Regions from separate parts of the Homo sapiens genome. Here all the other regions are linked to region 1. Evidence: promoter capture Hi-C in 16 types of primary human blood cells and fetal thymus (Javierre and others, 2016). All regions are on one chromosome and are shown on one strand. The core of a region is centred on a gene start or on the middle of the fragment in contact, and the rest is flanking DNA. Distances in the headings are between cores, read along the strand shown.

Evidence for each region. The method cuts DNA at HindIII sites, captures the fragments that hold promoters and counts their contacts. A CHiCAGO score of 5 or more calls a contact.
Region 2: a fragment that was not itself captured here is called in contact with the fragment with the promoter of MYBPC3 in region 1 in 1 of 17 cell types (erythroblasts); the score reaches 6.0 in erythroblasts.
Region 3: a fragment that was not itself captured here is called in contact with the fragment with the promoter of MYBPC3 in region 1 in 2 of 17 cell types (endothelial precursors and erythroblasts); the score reaches 7.9 in endothelial precursors.

What each region holds. Positions count from the first base shown.
Region 1 is chr11:47,351,211-47,354,115 of GRCh38, reverse strand. MYBPC3 (myosin binding protein C3) reads left to right here and starts at 1,414. Exons shown (of 35, transcript NM_000256.3): 1 at 1,414-1,493; 2 at 2,611-2,877. The coding sequence starts at 1,469. RefSeq lists enhancers at 1,790-2,770, 2,771-2,905. The HindIII fragment of the contact is 20,166 bases long and covers 1-2,905 here.
Region 2 is chr11:47,230,312-47,233,216 of GRCh38, reverse strand. DDB2 (damage specific DNA binding protein 2) reads right to left here. Exons shown (of 10, transcript NM_000107.3): 4 at 258-403. Among named protein-coding and RNA genes, the nearest start is that of DDB2, 17 kb to the right of the region's middle. The HindIII fragment of the contact is 2,598 bases long and covers 223-2,820 here.
Region 3 is chr11:47,257,362-47,260,266 of GRCh38, reverse strand. NR1H3 (nuclear receptor subfamily 1 group H member 3) reads right to left here and starts at 2,271. Exons shown (of 10, transcript NM_005693.4): 1 at 2,138-2,271; 2 at 1,008-1,087; 3 at 288-476. The coding sequence starts at 1,050. RefSeq lists an enhancer at 263-831. The HindIII fragment of the contact is 1,012 bases long and covers 1,005-2,016 here.

The DNA.
Region 1 (2,905 bases), core at 165-2,664:
CCAGACGGTAGCAAGTAGTGGCAGTAGACAGCCTGGGAGTGAGGGACTTCCCAACGCTGTCAAAGACCTTAGGGAACCCAGATTCTGGGGCCATTATCGTAGGGACAAATACCCGCCCCACACCTCCTCAACCCCAGAGGGCTCACTGCAGCCCAACCCTGCAGCTCCCTAGTCCTACTGCAGGGCCACAAGAGAAGGCAAAATGGTGTTGTGTCTTCATTCTTCTATTTTTATTTTTTTTTTTTTGAGACAGGGTCTTACTTTGTTGCCCAGGCTGGAGTGCAGTGGCACGAACATGGCTCACTGCAGCCCTGACCCCCCGGGCTCAAGTGATTCTCCTGCCTCAGCCTCCCGAGCATCTGGGACTACAGGTGTGCGTCACATGCCTGACTGATTTTTGTATTTTTTGTACAGATGGGGTTTCATCATGTTGCCCAGGCTGGTCTCGAACTCCTGAGCTCAAGTGATCTGCCCGCCTCAGCCTCCCAAAGTGCTGGGATTACAGGTGTGAGCCACTTCGCCCAGCCCATTTTTATTTTTTTATTATTATTCTTTGAGATATTAATAATAAAAAATAATAATAAATAATATTTTTATTATTATTATCACTCTGTCACCCAGGCTGCAGTGCAGTGGTGCGATTTTGGCTCACTGCAGCCCGGAACTCCTTGGACTCAAGCGATCCTCCCACCTCAGCCTCCTGGGTAGCTGATACTACAGGTCCACACCACCACACCTGGCTAATTTGTGTGTGTGTGTGTATTTATTTTATTTTTTATTTTTTTAGTAGAGATGGGGTTTTGCCATGTTGCCCAGGCTGGTCTCAAACTCCTGGCCTCAAATAATCTGCCTGCCTCGGCCTCCCAAAGTGCTGGGATTACAGATGAGCCACCACACCCGGCCTAACATTTTTAAAATTATAAACCCACTTCATACGTGTGACAATCCTGTGCAGTGGGTGCTGCTTTCACCCACCCCGCTTTACAGATGAGGAAACCAGGTGCTTTGAGATTAAAGAGATGGCAGTGCTAGGACTCAGAGACACCCTGGCCCCAGGGTCTGTGGACATGACCACTGCCTGAACTGCCTGCGAGGATGCTCCTGACCCGTTAGCCTTAGGGTTATGGGCCCAGCATGCTCCCACCGTACAATTTGCTGTAAGAGGGACACACACGGGGCTTGGAGTACCCCTGAGGCTTGCCAAAGGTTGGGGAGGCAGAATTGTGCTGCGGGGGGTGAGGGGGGAAGGGACAGGAGCCAGCCAGGGACAATGTGGCCCTACCTTCTCCCTGGAGAGACCTCAGCTCTCTGGAATTCATCTATATTTAGCAGGTGGCTGGACAGGAGGCAGATAAGCAGAGCCTGGGGAGGGGGGAGGTCCCCATATATAGTGGGAAGGACAGGACCCCACTCAGTCCCTCTTTGGGTGACCTGTGCCTGCTTCGTGCCTGGTGTGACGTCTCTCAGGATGCCTGAGCCGGGGAAGAAGCCAGGTAGCTTTAGGACTGGGGTTGGGTCTAAGTGTGGGAGCAGGGGGGTGTCTACAATTGGGGAGCAGGGCTAGGAGGGAGTTCTTGAGGGGGTTGACGAGGACGTGGCCTCTGAGCCCCAGGACAGGGGCAGCCAGTCCTCCAGGGTCCTTTTTTGATTCTCGGTTTCTTTTTCCCATCCCTCTGATGAGAGGTGAAGGTAAACCCAAGGTCAGGGACGCAGAGAGGGGACACAGCCAAGACAGGAAGCACCCGGGGTCAACCCATTCTGAGAATGCAAAGGGACCCCTTCCCTGTCCCATTGCCTTCACCTTCCACAGCAAGGTTCCCCGCGGACAGAGCCCACGTTTAGTATGGAGCTGAGCCAGGCTCACGGCATGCCTTCAGACCAGTCTCTACCCACTATGGGTCTCAGTCTCCCAACCTGGGGTGCCGGGGGTGGTGGTGGCATTGGGTTGGTTCCTCCTGGCTGTGACATTATCTGCTTCATGAGCCTGTACGGTGTGGCCCCCATGTTGAGGGTGACACAGCCCCTCTTCTCTGAGAGAGGACAGTCAGGAGCCCCTGAACCCAGGCCAAGGGCAGGGAAAATCACAGCCCAGGGACCTGGGCCTGGGCTGTGCCCTTATGAAGGTTGTCCAGGGCAGAGATCCAGGTCCCCATCCCCCAGCGCCCTCCCAGGCCAGCTTTATCTCAGTTGCTGATACCCAGCCTGAGGTCCTTGGAGGACAAATTTGGCCACATTCCAAGTAGGCAGACTTCCCCGCCCCCTGCCAAGGGCCCGAAATGGTTGGGGGAAAGGGAGCTGGGTTCATCACGGGTGTCTCCAAGCAGGGAAAGTGGACACATGCAGAAAAAGTCTTGTTGGGAGGTCAGGACCACAGCCCTGGCTCTCCCGACTGCTAGCTGTGTGATCTTGGAGGAGCCGCTTAGCTTCTCTGAGCCTCAGTGTCCTCCTCTGAGAAATGAACAGAATAACTGCAACTACCTCAGAGAACTGGTAGAGTATTACGTGAGGGGATGCATAGAAAGTGCTAGCACAGTATTTACTGAGAGGGGCTGCAGGGGCGGGGTGCACGCTCCAACCAGGGGCCGCTGTAGCCTCCACCTGGCCCTTCAGTCTCAGCTTTTAGCAAGAAGCCACGGTCAGTGGAAGTGGCCGCAGGCAGCCCTGCCGTGTTCGAGGCCGAGACAGAGCGGGCAGGAGTGAAGGTGCGCTGGCAGCGCGGAGGCAGTGACATCAGCGCCAGCAACAAGTACGGCCTGGCCACAGAGGGCACACGGCATACGCTGACAGTGCGGGAAGTGGGCCCTGCCGACCAGGGATCTTACGCAGTCATTGCTGGCTCCTCCAAGGTCAAGTTCGACCTCAAGGTCATAGAGGCAGGTAAGATCCTGATCAGCCTTCCCTGAGG
Region 2 (2,905 bases), core at 272-2,771, 120 kb after region 1:
TCAAGGTCCAGTCTAATACAGGTATGACTTACAGAAGAGCTGAGGCTCCAGAACACCTTCCCAAAGCAGTAACCCACCTGGACCAAAGTGAGGGCAGCCAAGGAGCAGTTTGAGAAAGAGAAAGAAGGGCGGAAAGTGGCTGACATCTTTCCTTTCTTCCCTGGGCCAGGTTGGGTTAAGGAAATGGGATCTGGATGCTCTTGCCGGAACTACACCTAAGCTTAGAAGCCCTTTCCCCTGCTAGTTAAACTACTCACTTGATGGTGTCTGAGCTGGCAAAAACTCGTAGAATGTTGCCTTTAAAGTCTTGCAGCCTAGTTGTTCCCTCCATTGAGGAGGCGTAAAACTGGTTGGTATTGAGAGGGTTAAACTTCAGCCCAGTGATGCTCCCTCCAGCTCCAATCTAACACGAGGAAGGAAAAAGCCAGTGAGTGATGATGGGCCTGGCCGTGAGGAACCAGGCCTGGGCACACATGCTGCGCCGTCACAGAAGCACCCCTCGAGCAGCGCTTGGGGCCAGGTCAGCTTAGACACTAGGACGCTCTCTACAGGGCCTTCACTTCTTTTTCTTTTCCTTTGAAATAGGGTCTTTCTCTGTCACTTAGGCTGAAGTGCAGTGGCACAAACACGGCTCACTGCAGCCTCAATCTCCTGGGCTCAAGCGATCCTCCCACCTCAGCCTCCCAAGTGCGTGCCACCATGCCCAGCTAATTTTTCTATTTTTTTTTTTTAAGATGGGGTTTTGTCACGTTGCCCAAGCTGGTCTTGAACTCCTAAGCTCAAGCGATCCCCCTGCCACGGCTTCCCAAAGTGCTAAGATTACAGGCATGAGCCGCTTTGTCTGGCCCCTTCATTTCTTTCTTTTTTTTATTTTTATTTTTATTTTTATGTTTTTGAGATGGAGTCCTGCTCTGTCACGACCTCGGCTCACTGCAACCTCTGCCTTCCAGGTTCAAGCGATTCTCCTGCCTCAGCCTCCCAAGCAGCTGGGATTACAGGTGCCCACCACCACGCATGGCTAAATTGTATATTTTTAGTAGAGACAGGGTTTCACCATGTTGGCCAGGCTGGTCTGGAACTCCTGCCCTCAGGTAATCCGCCACCCTTGGCCTCCCAAAGTGCTGGGATTACAGGCGTGAGCCACCGTGCCCCGCCTCCCTTCATTTCTTAAGGCTTTATTTTTACTTTTTTTTTTAATTAACATATAGCAAATTTGGGATATAAAGTTCTCTGAATTTTAACATATGTATAGACTTAAATAACCACCACCCAAATCAGGATGCAGAACATTTGCAACAGCCCAAAAACTCCATCGTGGTATCCCATTGTAATCACACCCTCCCCTCGCCCCCAGCCCCTGGCTGATCTGTTCTCCATCACTATTGTTTTGCCCTCATAGAATGTCCTATAGACCGAGCACAGTAATCCCAACACCTGGGGAGACTGAGGCGGGGGGATTGCTTGAGGCCAGGAGTTCAAGACCAGCCTAAGCAATATAGGGAGACCCCATCTCTACACACACAAAAAAAATTTAGACATGGTGGTAGGTGCATGTGGTTCTAGCTACTCAGAAGGCTGAGGTGGGAAGATGACGGAAGCCTGGAGGTCGAGGCTGCAGTGAGTTGCGATCGAATCACTGCACTCTAGCGTGGGTGACAGAGCAAGACCCTGTCTCTAAAAATAAAATAAAATAAAATTAAAAATAGAATGTCATGTAAATGAATTAGGCAGTATGCAACCTTTTGAGACTGTCTTGTTTCATTTCACTCATCATGCCTCTGAGATTCATCTGAGTTTGCTGTATCAAGAGCTCATCTCATTTTATTGCTGAGGTATTCCATTACATGGATGTGCCCTAATTTGTTATTCCCACAGTGCTCTCTTTAGAAGAGCTTCAGCTCAGAGCAGTGGCTGAGTTAGGAGGGCAGGAGTCAGATCTGTGCCCCTTCCTATTCTTCCAAACATTCATGAAAATGATGATGAAAATAATCATGAGAATATCAATGGCTTAACCTTATTAAGTGCTTACTATGTACTAGGCGCTGGTTTTTTGGGGGGATTTTCTTTGTGTGTTTTTTTTTTTTTTTTTTTTTTTTTGAGATGAAGGCTTGCTCTGTCGCCCAGGCTGAAGTGCGGTGGCACAACCTCAGCTCACTGCAGCCTCCACCTCCTGGATTCCAGTGATCCTCCTGCCTCAGCCTCCTGAGTAGCTGGGATTACATGCCCACACCATCACACCCAGCTAATTTTTGTATTTTTAGTAAAGACAGGTTTCACCATGTTGGTCAGGCTGGTCTCGAACTCCTGACCTCAGGTGATTGGCCTGCCTCGGCTTCCCAAAGTGCTGGGATTACAGGCGTGAGCCACTGCGCCCAGTCAGGCACTGTTTTAAGAACTTTACATCCCCAAGATGTAAAGTTCTCCACTTGTCCGCCTTTCTCCACCTTTTCCACTTCTTCTTTACGCTGCAGCTATCCCAGCCTCACAGACCTGTACAAGTTCTTCTATGCAACAACCACTTAGCTATCACAACATACTAACTGGCACATTCCCTTCCCTCTATAAAACATTCTAACCTCACGGTCATTCTAATGCTCATGGTCTGCCAAATGCTTGCTGGTAGTATGACAATCTTCGGCTCCCTCCAGTTGAGTTCTATGCTTACCAAACCAAGGGTTGGTTGTAGTTGTTCTCAAACCTGTTTATTCCAATTGTATCTTTTATTGCAATTAACACCAAATTTAATTAAGCATGTAAATTGATGAAATACATGCAAAAACAAAGGCCATTATTACTACTATAAAAGCCGTGTTGAAAGCTTTGGAAGAACTTGATAATGAGTTGCAAAAATAATAGCTATTGGCTGGGCACAGTAGCTCACATCTATAATCCCAGTATTTTGAGG
Region 3 (2,905 bases), core at 261-2,760, 94 kb after region 1:
CCTCATTTGCCAAGTGCCATTATGTTCTAGGTACTGTATGAGCCTTTTATATGCACTGATCCTTATGACAACCATAATTTTTATTTCCATTTTATAAACAAGGAAAGTGAGGCTCAGAAAGGCCTAGAGACAAAATTCACACTTAGATCAGTCAGATTTAGTTAGCTCTAAAGCCTCTGAACTTAACCATGAGATTATATATAAAGTAAAAACCCCCAAGGAACCTCTTCCAGATCCAGGACCTGGAATCTGGACCCCTACCTCCTCCAAACCCAGAAGCTCCTCACCTGTGGGTTCTGAAGGGGGCTCTGCCCTGGTGAGCAGGGCTGTGGGCTCTGCAGCCTCCAGCCCCACCCCTGCAGTACCCCCAGCAGAGTGGGGCATCCTGGCTTCCTCTCTGAGGATGCAGCTGCTGCCTCCCTGGGCCTGGCTGCTTGCATCCTGTGCGCCTGGCTTCCACAGCTCCACCGCAGAGTCTGAGCTCCAAAAGAGAGGCACAAGGGGGTCTCAGGCCCCATCCCGGCTCCACGGCCCAGCGTCCTAGCTGGGAAACTGCAAACTTATCCCCACCCTTAGAGGGCAGCAAAGTCCCAGCTCAGGCTTTGGGACCCTAGAGTCTGTGTGGGCTCTAGCTAGGACTAGTCACTTGTAGTTTCTTACATCTCAGGACCTTAAATGAAGATGTTAATCCTTGTCCCTTTGGGGGGCTGGAGTGTATGCATTTCAGAGATCAGATAAAACTCTTCAAAGCCAGAGCAGGGTAAGCACTCAGCTGGCCAACTCTCTAGCAGCAAATCCAGACTGGGGAGGACTGGGCGGGTGCCTGCAAGGGCCAGGCACTGGAACCAGGGGAGAGGTGATCTGGGCGGGAGGCAAGCACGACTAAGAATGACTCTGGACTGCTCTCTGGAGGAAGGAAGAAGGCAGGTAATGAAGGAGGCTGATTCCTACAGGAGGCGTGGAGCCTGCGGTCTGGGCTCAGGGGAGAGGGATGGAATGAAGCTTACCAGGAGGAATGTCAGGCACAGGGGCCCCCAGCCACAAGGACATCTCTTCCTGGAGCCCTGGTCATTACCAAGGCACTGTCCTGCAGGAAGGACCCAGATTATACTCTTCTAGAACTGGGCTCCTTTCTGGCCTCAGCTCCCTTCTCCACCTGATCCTCCCTTTTATCAATATCAACAATATCAGCTAACATTTACTTGCCATATATTAGCCTGTACTAAGGCTTTATTATATTACTATTATGTTTTTTAGAGACAGGTTCTCCCTATTTTGCCCAGGCTAGTCTAGGAATTCCTGGGCTCAAGTGATCCTCTCACCTGGGCCTCCCAAAGTGTGGGGATTATTGGAGTAAGCCACTGCGCCCAGCCTGTTATAAGGCTTTATGTGCTTTCCTCATAATATCCCTCTGAGGTCAAAACTATTAATTTTTTTTTTGAGATGGGGTCTCTCTATGTTGCCCAGGCTGGAACTCAGTGCTATTCACAGGTGCAATAATAGGACACTATCGCCTCAAACTACTGGGCTGAAGCAATCAGGTTTCAGCTTCCTGAGTATCTGAGATTATGGGCGCACGCTACTGCTCCTGGCTCAGGACTATTCTTAAACTCATTTTACAGATAAGCAAACTGAGGTTCAAAGAGATTAAGTAACTATGGTCACACAGTTAGGCGGCGGTAGAGTCAAGACTCCAACCCTCCTCTGACTCCAAAGTCTGGGCTCCCAGCCACCGTGCCGGCTTTTCTCCCCCAAAGTCCCCTCCAGGCCAGCAGGGAATGTTTGGGTGCATCTGCCCTGCTTCTCTTGGGCCCCTTCCCCCTCACTCCAACACTGAGGACAGCTCACTCCACCCAGTGAAACACGCTGCTTATTAGAGAACCTCGCTCGTGCCACTTTCCAGGGTCCCAGCACAAACCTGTCTCCAAGAATCTCCCCAATTCACATAGAGGACCTCCTCCCCTGAGCCCCTCATGAGTTATTCTGGGACCCAGAGTCCTGCTCCTGTCCCAAGCTTCCATCACCATCACCCCTCACTTCTCCCCAGAAACCCCCTTCTCAGATCCTTAGGACATTCCCCGACCCCACCCCAGATACACACACAGAGCCCCAGGCCACTGCTAAGGAGCAGACCCACCAAATCCCCAGGCCACCAGACTTCCTGGGTGGGCAGTCTCTGGAGCCCCCTTGCTGGGAGAAGAGGATGGTGCAGTTTCCTGTCCAGAAGTCTCGGTGGCCAGCCAGTGAGCTGGAGCTGAGCACAAGCAGGACCTGGAGCCCCAGAGAAGTAGCAATTTGGGGAAAGGCTGAGGGGAGGGACTGCCGAGGGGTCAGGCCACCCCTCCTTCCTGCCTGGTGACCACAGCCCTCCCCTCCTCACCCCCGCCCACAGGGCAGCTTCTCCACCAGGCTGGCTCCTCCCCAGCCGGCCACCCCCTCTCCCGCCACTCCCGCCCCCTACTCCCGGCCAAAACAGTGGCATTTCCCTGCAGACCAGCCAAGTTCCATGTCTCTCCCCTTCCTCTCCTTACCCAGCGCTCTTAGCAGCTCTTGCAAAAGGACTGCCTCCCAGGAACCCCCACCCCAATCCCAGCAGCCTCCAGAATCGTGTTCCCTCCCCTCCATAGGCACCTCGTGGAGCAAAGGTCCCAGCACGGCCCGGAATTGCGACACTGAGCCCCAGCGGCTTTCCCAGCCTCCCTCCTCCTCCCTTGCCTCTGGGAAGAGGCCAAGAAGCTCTCCCCACTAGCCCCAGGCCTCAGCCAAGCTGGTAGAAATCCAGGGGTGGAGAGAGGCAGGTGCTGGGCCTTCCAGGGAGTTTCTGAAAGTGGGTGCCCTGCGGGGGCCACAGATAAGAGAGGAGGCCAGGAGAGCCTTTGATAGGAAATCTGCTATGAGCAGTGGC